Regions from separate parts of the Homo sapiens genome. Here region 2 is linked to region 1. The links are contacts of gene promoters, found by promoter capture Hi-C in blood cells and fetal thymus (Javierre and others, 2016). All regions are on one chromosome and are shown on one strand. Each heading gives the region's core, a stretch centred on a gene start or on the middle of the fragment in contact. The rest is flanking DNA. Distances are from core to core; before and after follow the strand shown. Region 1 holds the start of ANGPTL5 (angiopoietin like 5). Region 2 holds the start of ARHGAP42 (Rho GTPase activating protein 42).

Evidence for each region. The method cuts DNA at HindIII sites, captures the fragments that hold promoters and counts their contacts. A CHiCAGO score of 5 or more calls a contact.
Region 2: a contact is called between the fragment with the promoter of ARHGAP42 here and the fragment with the promoter of ANGPTL5 in region 1, in 1 of 17 cell types (total B cells). The highest score is 5.7, in total B cells.

The regions. Positions count from the first base shown.
Region 1 is chr11:101,915,272-101,921,308 of GRCh38, forward strand. ANGPTL5 (angiopoietin like 5) reads right to left here and starts at 1,251. Exons shown (of 9, transcript NM_178127.5): 1 at 748-1,251. It overlaps CEP126 (centrosomal protein 126), which reads left to right. Exons shown (of 11, transcript NM_020802.4): 1 at 1-141. The coding sequence starts at 14. The HindIII fragment of the contact is 9,032 bases long and covers 1-5,868 here.
Region 2 is chr11:100,684,506-100,690,542 of GRCh38, forward strand. It overlaps ARHGAP42 (Rho GTPase activating protein 42), which reads left to right and starts at 2,783. Exons shown (of 24, transcript NM_152432.4): 1 at 2,783-3,327. The coding sequence starts at 3,174. ARHGAP42-AS1 (ARHGAP42 antisense RNA 1) reads right to left here and starts at 3,450. Exons shown (of 2, transcript NR_133571.1): 1 at 3,128-3,450; 2 at 1-1,198. RefSeq lists silencers at 2,153-2,447, 2,498-2,687, 2,988-3,157 and enhancers at 2,384-3,094, 2,808-2,857, 3,178-3,547. The HindIII fragment of the contact is 7,960 bases long and covers 106-6,037 here.

The sequences.
Region 1 (6,037 bases), core at 1-2,500:
GCTGAAGTGAAGGATGCTGGCGGGGAGGCCCGGAACCCGGAGCGCGGTCGGGGAACTGGGCACTGAATCATCGGACAACCTCGACAGAGCCCCCCTCGGCCCTCGGGAGAGCGGCGGGCATCACCGACCTGGCTCTTACCTGTATCCTTCCCAGCCTGTGGCTGCCAGGGTAGCGATGTTGAAAACGGGGCCCATCTTTTTCCAATTAGATTCCCATTACCTTTGACGCAGGGTGATCAAAACTAGCAAGTCATCTTAGTGCAGATATTTCCTTTAGCAACTGTCGTGTCTCACCTTAGACCTGAAATTATACCATTTTATCTAATTCTGTGGCTGCTTCCCCCCATCACCCTGTTATCCTACTCCCATTCTTCAACTTTGTAAAATTTTTGTGAATTTTAAAACACATCAACTGTGTATTCTGTGGGGATATTTTTATGCCATTATGTTCTTTACTTACATATTAACTACTTCCTGATTTATCGTACTACTTGGAGAGAGAAATTACACAAATAAGTAAAATGTTTTGCTATCCTAAAGAGTCCGTTTTAACAGTTATCCTAACACAGCCCTAAATGCATTTACCAGAGCTGCTAAAGGCTACACAGTTTGGTAAGTTGTTTTGTTTTCCATCTCTGCCCAGTCTGTTGTCAGAGCGACAGAAAAGAGGAAATGAGAAACAGGGGACCTGGACGCTTTACAATCTGGATTAACTCTGACTTTTCTCGAAGAGTTGGTTAAGCCTACCTTTGATGTTGCTGTTGGTTGCATTGTAGAAAATGGAAAGAGGAGAAGTATTTTGTTATCAAAATCTGTAAATCAGGTTTATTCCTTTAGAGACTGTTGTGATGATTAGGATTTAACCTTTGTATTCCCAAAGGACTTGGTTGGCAATGATGGTGTTGTGTAATCATCTTCAGTCTTGTCAGAGATGAGTGTCTTCTCTTTCCAAGTTAACTCTGTTTTCTTATCCCCTTTGTCTCCAATTTCTAGGATGTTCTTTGTACTCTGTTACAATTTTAGCAGCAAGTCAACAATTTGTATTGAGTGCCTGCTCTTTGGCTGACTCTGTTCTAGGTTCTAGGGATACAAATCTAGTGAGGAAGACAAATGTGTATAGAGCTTCACTAAAAGTAAAATATCTCTTCTCCGATCATGCTTTCTGCAATCTTCCATCCCTTCAGTCTTTTCTTTCTTTGGGCAGGTTCTCAAAATGGTAGCTTGCAATAGCTGCTTCTAGTTCCTCTCATCTATTCATTATTAACCCCATTCAGTTTGGCTTTTGCCCTTGCTGCTCCCCAAAATTGCCCTCTTAAAGGTTACTCTGAAATGAACACAATCATTTTCTGTATGGATTTAATTCTGGCCTCTTGACATTATATTTTCTTGGACACAACTGCTATTACACGACCCTGATTTATCTCTAAATCAGAAAATAGGGAAGTATTGTAAATGGCTCATTGAGAGTGTATTTTCTGTTATTTTCATTAATAAAATGGTTGTAGGCCTCATTTTTTAAATTTTATGTGGTATAAATTTTTGATACAAATGCCAAAGAAAATATTCATAAATAGAATCCAGCAATACTTTGAATGAACACAACCAAATAGACTCTATTCCAGAATTAGAATGACATTTCCTATAAAGAAATACAACACTAAAAAAGATCCTTAAAGGCTAAATATATAGTTAAAATTAGGCAAGTTATAAATGAACATTTTAATAGATGACCAATAGACTTTGATAAAATCCAACAATGTGTGTGTGTGTGTGTGTGTGTGTGTGTGTGTGTGTGTGTGTGTGTGCTGGTTTATATATATTTTTGCTAGTTTGCATATGTGTGTATATATATGTTTAGATAATATATATTTAAATTGGAACAGAGGAATTATTTTTGAACATAATAAAGATTATAACACTAAATCAAGAACATTATGTTTGCTAGCTGGAAAAACACTAAAGTACCTTTTATATAAGTTTAATTGGAATGTTCTTTGTGTCTATAATGTTTCCCATTGGATACCTAGCACAGAGTAGGTGCTCAAATTTACATGACTAAATGAAAAAAAGGAAAGAAAGCAAATGAAAGGACCACAGCCTTAAAATAAGCAAGTATGTGGTAACATTTACATTTCAATTTCAAATATGAACATGATACTCAGAGGCCATCTGGCTTTCTGTTGAAGACATTTTCTCACTGGAGTCAGAATTTTCTGACTCTAAAGGTTATAAAACAACAAAACCTTATGAAGTTTATTTAATTAAAATTAGCTAAAGTTCTGTCATTTCAATCTCTTTTTCTCTTTTGAGAGTTCAAATAGAAATGGAATTTAAAAAAAAAAAAAAAAGGAAGGTCTCTCATGTCCCCTTATACCTGCCTTTTTTTCCTCATAAATATCTCTACCCTTCAACCCTCCCATTTTATCCTAGCACCCACCTTGCCTCTCCTTTCCTCTCCAGTTTATACCCTATTCTTAACTATTTGAACTTTCTCTCACCAACATCTTTGGCTATTTGTACCCCAATCATTCTGCCTCAGCCACTCAATAACTACTATAGTCCTGCTCCTTTACTCCTTCATGCGAATAATAAAAATGCTGTCAAAGAAAAATCACAAAACAATACAGATTGTACCACTAAAGATTGATGGTTTCCAGCTTCACCTAAACAGGAACAGGGTTCTTTCTTTTTCCTATGAATGCCTCTGCCAGGTCTCTGTCACCTTCCATCACACTCGATAGACTGTCTTACCACTTGATAAGACTTGGATGCCCTGACAGGTCTGTTCCAACAAACAGCACAAACACACACACTCCCACCCACCTGTCTTTTTTTCCCCCCAGGCTCACTGATGGGATCTTACTTTTACTATAGAAAGTGAAGTGAACCCATTCAGCTGGGCCCAGTGGCTCACATCTGTAATCCTAGCACTTTGGGAGGCCGAGGTAGGCAGATTGCTTGAGTCCAGGAGTTCGAAACCAGCCTGGGCAACGTGGTGAAACCATATCTCTACAAAAAATACAAAAATTAGCTGTGTGTTGTGGTGCATGCTTGTAGTACCATCTACTTAAGAGGCTGAGGCAGGAAGATTGCTTGAGACTGCGAGGTGGAGGTTGCAGTGAGCCGAGATTATGCCACTGCACTCCAGCCTAGGCAACAGAGTGAGACCCTGTCTATAAATAAATAAATAAATTGTATTTTGCTAATACATACATAATAAAACATAGTTTTGTACCTTGTGTTTCTAAAAGGTACTGCCCCATGCTCATGAGATTTTGAAACTTAGGTACATAATACATTTCTAATGGCATATACTTTTGTATAACCCCCTTAGGAGCCAAGTTTTCTATAATGCACTAAAAGATATAAAAATGCATATGCCTTTTGTCCTCATATCTACCCCAGAGAATTTTCTCCAAGGGAATAATTCAGGAGGTTTTTATTAAATCATTACTATATTCTAAGAACCATGCCAGGCGTGAGAGTTACAGAAATGTAGAGAAGACACTTATCATGTACTCATGAAGGTGTCATCAAGTCATCTAGTGGAGGTTAGAAAAGGCTTCAAGGTAGAACGAACTGCTTGAGATGGCCCTGAAAGGATGAGTAGAGTTAGCCAAGCATGTGCCAAGAGATAATGGTATGATACATCACGGGTTGTTCTGTTTATAATTATCTTAGTGCGTCTGGACATAGGATTCATACAGGGAAATGTTAAGAAATAAAGTTGAAAAAACAAACTATATTATAGAATGGTTTATATATAGGTCCAAGAACTTTGGAATTTTTCATGAAGGTGATAGGGAGCTTTTGGAGAACAACAAAGAGAAACACAATCAGATTTGCATTTAGCTGACTTTGTGTAGGTTCAAATAGAGGTTTAGAGTAAGAAGAATTAGAGGAGCACTGTAGTCGTCCAAGCAAGGGATTTAGAGTACCTGAGTTAAGGGAGAGGAAGAAGGTACAGTAGAGGAAAAATCGAATCAACATAGCTTTAATAGATTTGGGGAAAAAATGGGTTATATAATACATAGTTATTTGTGATGGCAACATTTTAAACAACCTAACTGGATAAAAGACTAAGTTGGGAGAGGAGAAGTGAGGATAGAGTGGGGTAGAATAAGCTATGCTTTAAAATCACATGTTACAATACATATTATTCTTGGTTTTGTTTTTTTAATGTTAAGTATATAAAAATTCCCTTCTTTTGGACAGGTATTTAGCAGTGTTTTTTTTATGGAACTCCTACCTTTACCATACAGCTTGTATAAAAAAACAAAATTTAACCAGCCATCTAATTTTTTTAAACTTGAATACCATATTTGAAATGATACAAAAGCAGCAGGATTCTTTATATTAATAATTAATAATTCAGCAGGAAACATACTATACTATTATACTTATATATAAAGAAAGTAGAAAATCATTTGGTTAAATTGAAGACTATATAGTTGTCAGAACATTACAAACATTACATTTGTGATTTTCTTTATGCTGTCGTGATGAGACTTCAAACATGTCAAACAGAGAACAGAACTGTCTCCTCCTTGCTTCTCACTTAAGCCAAAGCATCTTCCTCCCCTCAACCTCATGTTGGCCCTGTGCACCCTGAAAGGAAGTTGCACTTTTCTTTACTGCCGAGTTGTCACTTTTAATACCTAGACATCTTGTTGAAGTCTGGCTCTTGTTAAAATATTCTATCAGAGAAAAACAGTTTTTCTGTGCTAGCAAAGAACCAAATTTTCTTCCCTTTTGGTTTGATTTTTATAAATCCTTTAAAAGAAATCTTTAAGTAAAAATATGTTTGTGAGTGTGTTTGGGTCTTTGTCTTGAAGTAGTGTAAAATTTTATTTAAAATGAAGGTAAAATGAATTATGGCCTATGGTATAAAGATGGTTAAATAGCAACACAAAAGAAAACAAATAAGCCCCCATCAGCAAAGGTCTAAACAACAAAATGTTCAAATAAACCTGTTATTCTGAAATATGTAATAATAGAGTTTCTTTATAATATTGATGCTGAAGCACTATAGGATCCTGAAATTAACATGTTGAATTAACAAATTATGTACCGCATAGTTTATTATTGAGTGTATTTCTAGTATTCTGTTTTACCATTAATAATCAATTTATGAGATTTTTACAATCTTGATTAAATGCAGCCTTTAAAGAGAATTTTGGACCTCCATCTTAGCGTAAAAAGTTTTTAAACAAGCTGTTTGTTCTAAAAAAGACAAATAGATATGCCCTACAATCTATAACTTCAGTATAATCTCATATATTTCTACATCTAATGATGAGGTACTAAATGTGATTACACGGTAATTCAATGAACTTTTTTTTTTTTTTTTGAGACAGAGTCTCGCTGTGTTGCCCAGGCTGGAGTATAGTGGCGTGTTCTTAGCTCACTGCAGACTCAACCCCCTCCAAGCTCAAGCGATCTTCCCACATCAGCCTCCCAAGTAGCTGGGGCTGCAGGCATACACCACCACACCTGGCTGATTTTTGCATTTTTTGTAGAGCCGGGGTTTCACCATATTGCCCAGGCTCATCTCAAACTCCTGGGCTCAAGCAGTCTGCCCACCTTGGCCTCCCAAATTGTTGGGATTACAGGTGTGAGCCACTGCGCCCAGCCAAATGAACTTCTTTTAATTCAAAATCATTAAAAACAGAAGACTCATGAAAAACAGAAAATTACTCTGACAAATTTGATAAAGATACTTAATAATGTCAATTAAAACGCAACTAAATAAATTGGAGAAATTACTCATATTGCTACAACTTATTTAAGGAGAGTTTAATTTTATAAAATAAATTTCAAGTGAATAGATGATTAGGATAACCAAAATATTCCTCTTTTTCTCTGACAAGCTTCTGGATACACAGATGACTATACATAGTTTTCCTAGTGGTTTTTTATAACCACTAAGTCACTAAGTAAATAACTAAACTGTATTCCTAACCATTCTAGTTATATTGCTATTTGATTGTTTAATATTTGAAAATGTACTTTCCTACTATAGATTAAGGGATCTGGT
Region 2 (6,037 bases), core at 1,533-4,032, 1.2 Mb before region 1:
CTCTCAAAAGCAAGTAAACAAAGCCCACATATCCCATTCCAGAATCAGGAAAACAAAGAGACATTTCTCTGTGCCAAAGAGCCTGTCAGCCAATAATATTTGCGAAGCTTACCACGCAGCTTACGGTGTCATGTGTTATGAAGTGGAAATTTCTGGACAGGCTATATTTCAATCCATTACATTTGTTTATGAAAACAGGCTTGCAGGTATTGCTGATCTTTTATATAGAAAGTCTATTCTCTAGGAAAGAATCTGGTTCAGTTAATTATGATGGAGAGAATCATGCATGGAAACAACAGTTCAAAACCGACAGTAAACCCACCTCAAAGCAAAAGCATTTCTGGTTTTTCTCAAGTAGCTGTGTTAATGTGGCATAAGAGAAAGCCTGACTAGCAGGTATAATTAAAGTATGAATCATAGGAATAAGCATGAGTAACTATGAAAACACCTACAAGAAATAAGCCCATTATAACATGATAAACTTTAGGGAATCATGAGTGAAGGGTAGGAGAAAAAATCCTAATTCCATGTAAATGCAATGATGGGCCTGAGTGGAAACATATTGATAAACAATAGCATCAATGTATTATTAGTACAGCATCTGTGTGAGGCTGTGGAACACAGCATATTCTGCCTTATGCTTTATGGGTACTTATTTTCCACATTTCCTTTTTCTGAGAACTGCTTGAGGTCACGGATAATGCTTCTGTCTTTTTATAGAAATCACTTCCCCACCCAGACCTTAGTAATGTAGACAGTAGACATAAAACATATCATTACATACATGAATGGGCAAATGATAACCTGTATCATAGAATGTACAATACATCTGCCCTGGCATGTAACACTTTTAAAGAAAACTAAACATTGACATCCAACATATTAAATGCAACTTATGAAACACCAATGATGCATTTTTAAAGACTTAATCACAGTACGATGATTTAATGAAAAACAAGAAGAGAATGTTATATTTTATCGTTTCGTATCTCAGCAGTTTGGCACTGGATTCAGTTGATAGGAACAGCAACATGGCAAAAGTTGAAAGGAAACTGTTTGGCCTGGGTGATTTTTTGTCTTTCAGGCAGAGTAATGAGTAAATACAAAATCACCTCTGGTGAGACACAGTCCACTGGTGTTTATGTCATGTCATTTCATTAACTGACAAACAGAATTACTGCCTCTCCCTTCCCCAAACCTGCAAAAGAAAAAAAAAATTGAAGAGTATTTAGTTAACAAAAACAAATTTAACACTTGGAGTTAAAATGGCTCTAATAGTGACTGGTCATTTTGCCAATATGGGGCCAAAGATGTGAATATGGATGGAAGGTGTTTTGAGATGGAGTCGTTCTGTCACTCAGGCTGGAGTGCGGTGGAGTAATCTCGTAATCTCGGCTCATGGCAATCGCCGCCTCCCGGATTCCAGTGACTCTCCTGCCTCAGCCTCCCAAGTAGCTGGGACTACAGGCGTGCGCCACCAGGCCCAGCTAATTTTTGTATTTTTTAGTAGAAACTGGGTTTCACCGTGTTGGCCAGTATGGTCTCCAACTCCTGACCTCAAGTGATTCTCCTGCATCAGCCTCCCAGAATGCTGGTATTACAGGCGTTAAGTCACTGCGCCTGGCCCATACTGTTTACATTATCTTATCTGTTTTAGGTTTACATGTTATTTTTAATGTTCCTGTACATTTAAAAAATTGAAACCAAGAATCTTGACTGGCTCTGAAACTTAATTGGGAAAAATGTAAAGCACTTTAGTGGAATTTTTCCCATGATCTGTAGAATAGTTTTTAAACAGATGGTTCATATGGACAAAGCAATGAAAATGCAGAAATTAAAAGCAGATCCTTAAGAACAATATCCGAGTTCTCAGAAATCCTATAGATGATGTCAGGACGAGATGTAAAGCAGTCGTTTCTTTTGCTGTCAAGGTTTTAAGAGAACAGAAATTTATTAGGTGAACCTCCACCGGAGGAAGGATAAAGCCTGTGGGTAGGAGTTAACTATTTATTTCAAACTCCAGTCCACTTCAACAATTTGAAAATTTTCCCGCTCCTAGGACAATTCCATCCAGGTGCCAATAGGAGATACTACTATTGTGATGCAAATAGGTATTCTACTAGAAGTAGGAGCACGTAAGCAGAGTGAGGATGACTTGAAAAATCGTCCCACCTTCCCAGCTATGGAGTGGGGGCAGGGGGAAGAAACACCTCCAGGCTGGATCATTGAAGCTGAGGGGTGGGAGAGCGACGGGACAATTTTTCAACGTGGAATTCAAATGCATTCGGTGGGGAAGTGTGAAGTAAAATCTAAACGAACGCTAGACAGTAGTATCTTCCATCTACGCTTCAAAATACTCAGACTTTAGGGAAACTTAACGTTGGTTTTTCTCCCAGAGAATTGTAGGGAGTGGGTGGAGGGGACACTGTTAGGGGAGGTATATTGGGAGTCAGATCCTTTTGTGGAGCGAGGGACCCCGAAGTGTCACCAAGGGCTAGCCGAAACCAGGGGCCCAAGAGGGGACAGGGCTAACACCCCAGCCAAGGCCGGAGCGCAAGCGCGGGGCTGCAGCGCGGGGAGCCCTGGAGCCCAGTGCGGGCGGACGGGTGGGGCAGGAGGGCAAAGGGGCGAAGGGGCGGGGTGGCGCTGGGTGGGAGCGCGGCGGCGGGGAGGAGGGTCTGGGAGCCCGGGTGCGATTTGCAAGCGCTCTGAGCCTGCGTCCGCCGAGGGGGAGGGTTTCCCCAGCCCGGCCGGAGTTGCGGCTGTGCGCTGCTTCTGGCTCACAACGCCGACGACTGTCAAGAGAGTTGGGGAGTGGAACTGCCGGAAGTGTCTGCGCGCCGTGAGAGAAACTTTCCTGCTCCGGCCGCGGCCCGGAGCCTCGCCGCCCCCGCGTTCCGAACGACGATGCGTCCAGATGACAACAACCTGAGGGGACTCGCGCCTCGGCCCGCCGCCCGCGCCTGCGCTCGCCTAGCCTCGGGGGAGGAAGACTGAGCCCGGCGCAGGCGGCGCGGCGCTCGGGGCCCGTTTCCTCCGCGCAATCAGTCCCCTCGCGTCCCGGCGCCTTCCCCGCGATCGCGCGACCCCAGCGCCCGCCGCGGCCGCCGGCTGCCCCCGCCCTGACCTCCGGCCCGGACGTGTCCGCGGCCGCCGCTGGCAGCGCCTGTGCCATGGGGCTGCCCACTCTGGAGTTCAGCGATTCCTACTTGGACAGCCCAGATTTCAGGGAGCGCTTGCAGTGTCACGAGATTGAGCTGGAGCGAACCAACAAGTTCATCAAGGAGCTCATTAAGGACGGCTCTCTGCTCATTGGGGCGTTGAGGAGTAAGTAGGGCTGGCGGGGGAGTGGACACCCGCATCTGGAGAGTCCCCGCGGGGTGCGGGTCCGAAGGGTGGGTTGGAGGAGTCGGAGCTTCTTTTGTTTGAATGGATTTGGGGACAAAAGCTGAAGAGCTCCCCTGCTGGTGGCCAACAAAGTTTGTTCTTGAGGTGTTCTTTACTTACTCACATGTCTACAGGGATGGGGAAAGTTCTCTACAGGGCACTGGAATATATCCTGAGGAAAGTCGTTCAAAGTCATCTCGTTGTGTAATGCTCCTAGGAAGATGTTGGGGACTTTAATTTTTTTTTTTTAATTTATTGTGTCTATTAATAGTTTGAACTAAAAAAGCCCTTAAGGGGGGAATCAAGAGTTTGTCTTAAAGATAAAATTAGGCTAGTTTAGTGATATTGAAAGAAAATTATTAATGTCTCTCATACGTCAGTGGCTCTTCATTGGACACAGTCATTGAGTTGGCTTTTTAAAAAGCATACATTTGCAGTTTTGCCATTTTGTAAGATAATGGAAGACAGCAAGGCACCAGTGCATTTTAACTCTGCAAGTTTTCTGTGCGTCTTAGTTTTGGTTTGCATTGTGTGGGTGTTGGGTGTGTCATTGGGATGAAAGTTAAGGGGTTAAAGGCCAATCAGAACTTTTGATGATCTGTAGAATATAAAGACTGTTATAGTCTATAATATAGGGCTTCTTCCACCTCCTTTCCCATACACCTCTTGATCAAATTTTCCTTCCTCCTTTTATCCTCTGGATCTTAGCTTTCAATTCCTAAGACCTAAGAGTATCTGAAACTGAAGAGTTTCTCTTACAGAGAATTGAGCACAATTACATGATATGGCTTGTTACCTTTCCCAGGAGGTATTTGCATCTTTTAAAAAATTTATTTTTATTTATTTATGTATTTATTTATTTTCCATCTTCAAAGGAGCCTGTGAAAAGTATTTGCATCTTAATAGAGGCTTCTGGATGTTTTAGCTACTGAAATGAAGCCGTGGAATCTCTGGTCACTTAAAGCTGGGTGAGTGAGGTACTTTCAAAAGGTAGAGAGACCTTTGGGTGATCTAGTTACCCCCAGGACATATATGGGGGCATCATCTTTGTATAACAACATGATAGGGATGTGTGCGCCTAAAACTGAGACAATACTAGTATCGGATCTATATTTTGAAACATGTATTAACAGTAAGGAGAGAGCTTAGCAAGATGTCTTGAAATTAATGTGCTCCAAAATATCTTTTAATCATCCCAAATGTTAAAACATTTACTTAACCACTTGTGTTACTTAACCAAGGTAAAGATAATATATTTTATGCCCATATTCACTTAATTTCTGAATTTGAGGCTACTACTAATAATGGTATTTACTGTGATTTGTGAAAAATATAGTTTGTCTGCAATTCTTGCCACCCTACATAAACACTAATGTGAACTGTCCTTCCTCTGGCTTGCAAATCCTGGTTAAAGTCTCGCGGGACTAACCTCTTTGCATCTAAGAGAGCATGATGCCTCTTCAAAAAGAGCTGCATCTCAGAGTGTCAAATGCCAAGCCAGTTCTTGTTGGAGGTGCCAGATATTCTACATTTTTCTCCCCGCTCTGCTTGAGATAAACTTTAGTGTTTCAGAAGGTCAAAATACTTACATACCTGTGATAAATGCTCTGACATGTACATTATATTACGAGTGACATTACATACTTTATTATGATGGTTGAATCTAGCTTTGTAAAAGTCAGGTGATTCCCATCATTATAGTTTTGTTCTTCCATTCATAAGTGAAGAAATCTTGGGAGCGTAGGCTCTTTGAAGATATAGGCCCTGCATCATTAATTTGGCTTATGCACTTAATTATACAACCTGCTATCTTTCTAGGATTCTTAAGTTTGTGGTGAGAGTGTATTACTTTAACTAACGTTTGATTATTACTTCTTTCATTGTGAAAAGGAAAAGATTTTATTCCTTGGTAAAAGGATTCCTAACAGCAGCTGCCAAATGGGAGGGATTTTGGAGCAAAGGAACCCTTGAAGTCACACTGTAGCACTGATTTTTTTCGTACCAAGCCACCTTTTGTCCCTTAGGAAGGATGCTCTGAGGCTGGGCTGCAGCTGCTTGGATAGGAGGAGTGTGTCAGAAAGGATTTGAAGCCTGCTTGGTTCTATCACTGGCTGCCCCTGCCCTGACCACTAGCCCAGACATGTCCCCTGGCATAGCTGGCAGTGCTTGTACCATGGGGCTGACCATTCCACTGTGGGAGCGTCCCTGTACCATAAGTCTGCCCACTCCACTAAGGGAGTCCTTCTTCCCCCAGTCTGTCTTTTCTGTTTTTCTTTCCTGCCTGGGGAGGACTTCACCTTCCCTAACTTTATATAGACTATTTCAATAGATGTATCCATTACCCGTTTCAGTTTTTTTAGCACGGCACTGTTATTTTTATTAATAATTAATGCATTCTTAATGTAACCTTATTAAGCAATTATCAGTGTATTTCTAAGCATATTATATTATTTTTATCCCTGTTGTTAACTTTTCCCGTGAGAGTTTTGACTTGCACTCTCTTAGGTAATACACGCCTGACTATTCCAATAAGAGTCACACATGCTCCTTGCTCTGTGGTTCAAGTTGTAATTTCTTCAGTAGACTATTTGGAAGGCTCCTTTAAATTGAACTAGAAGATTTCAATTGAACTAGATAATTTCAATTTTAA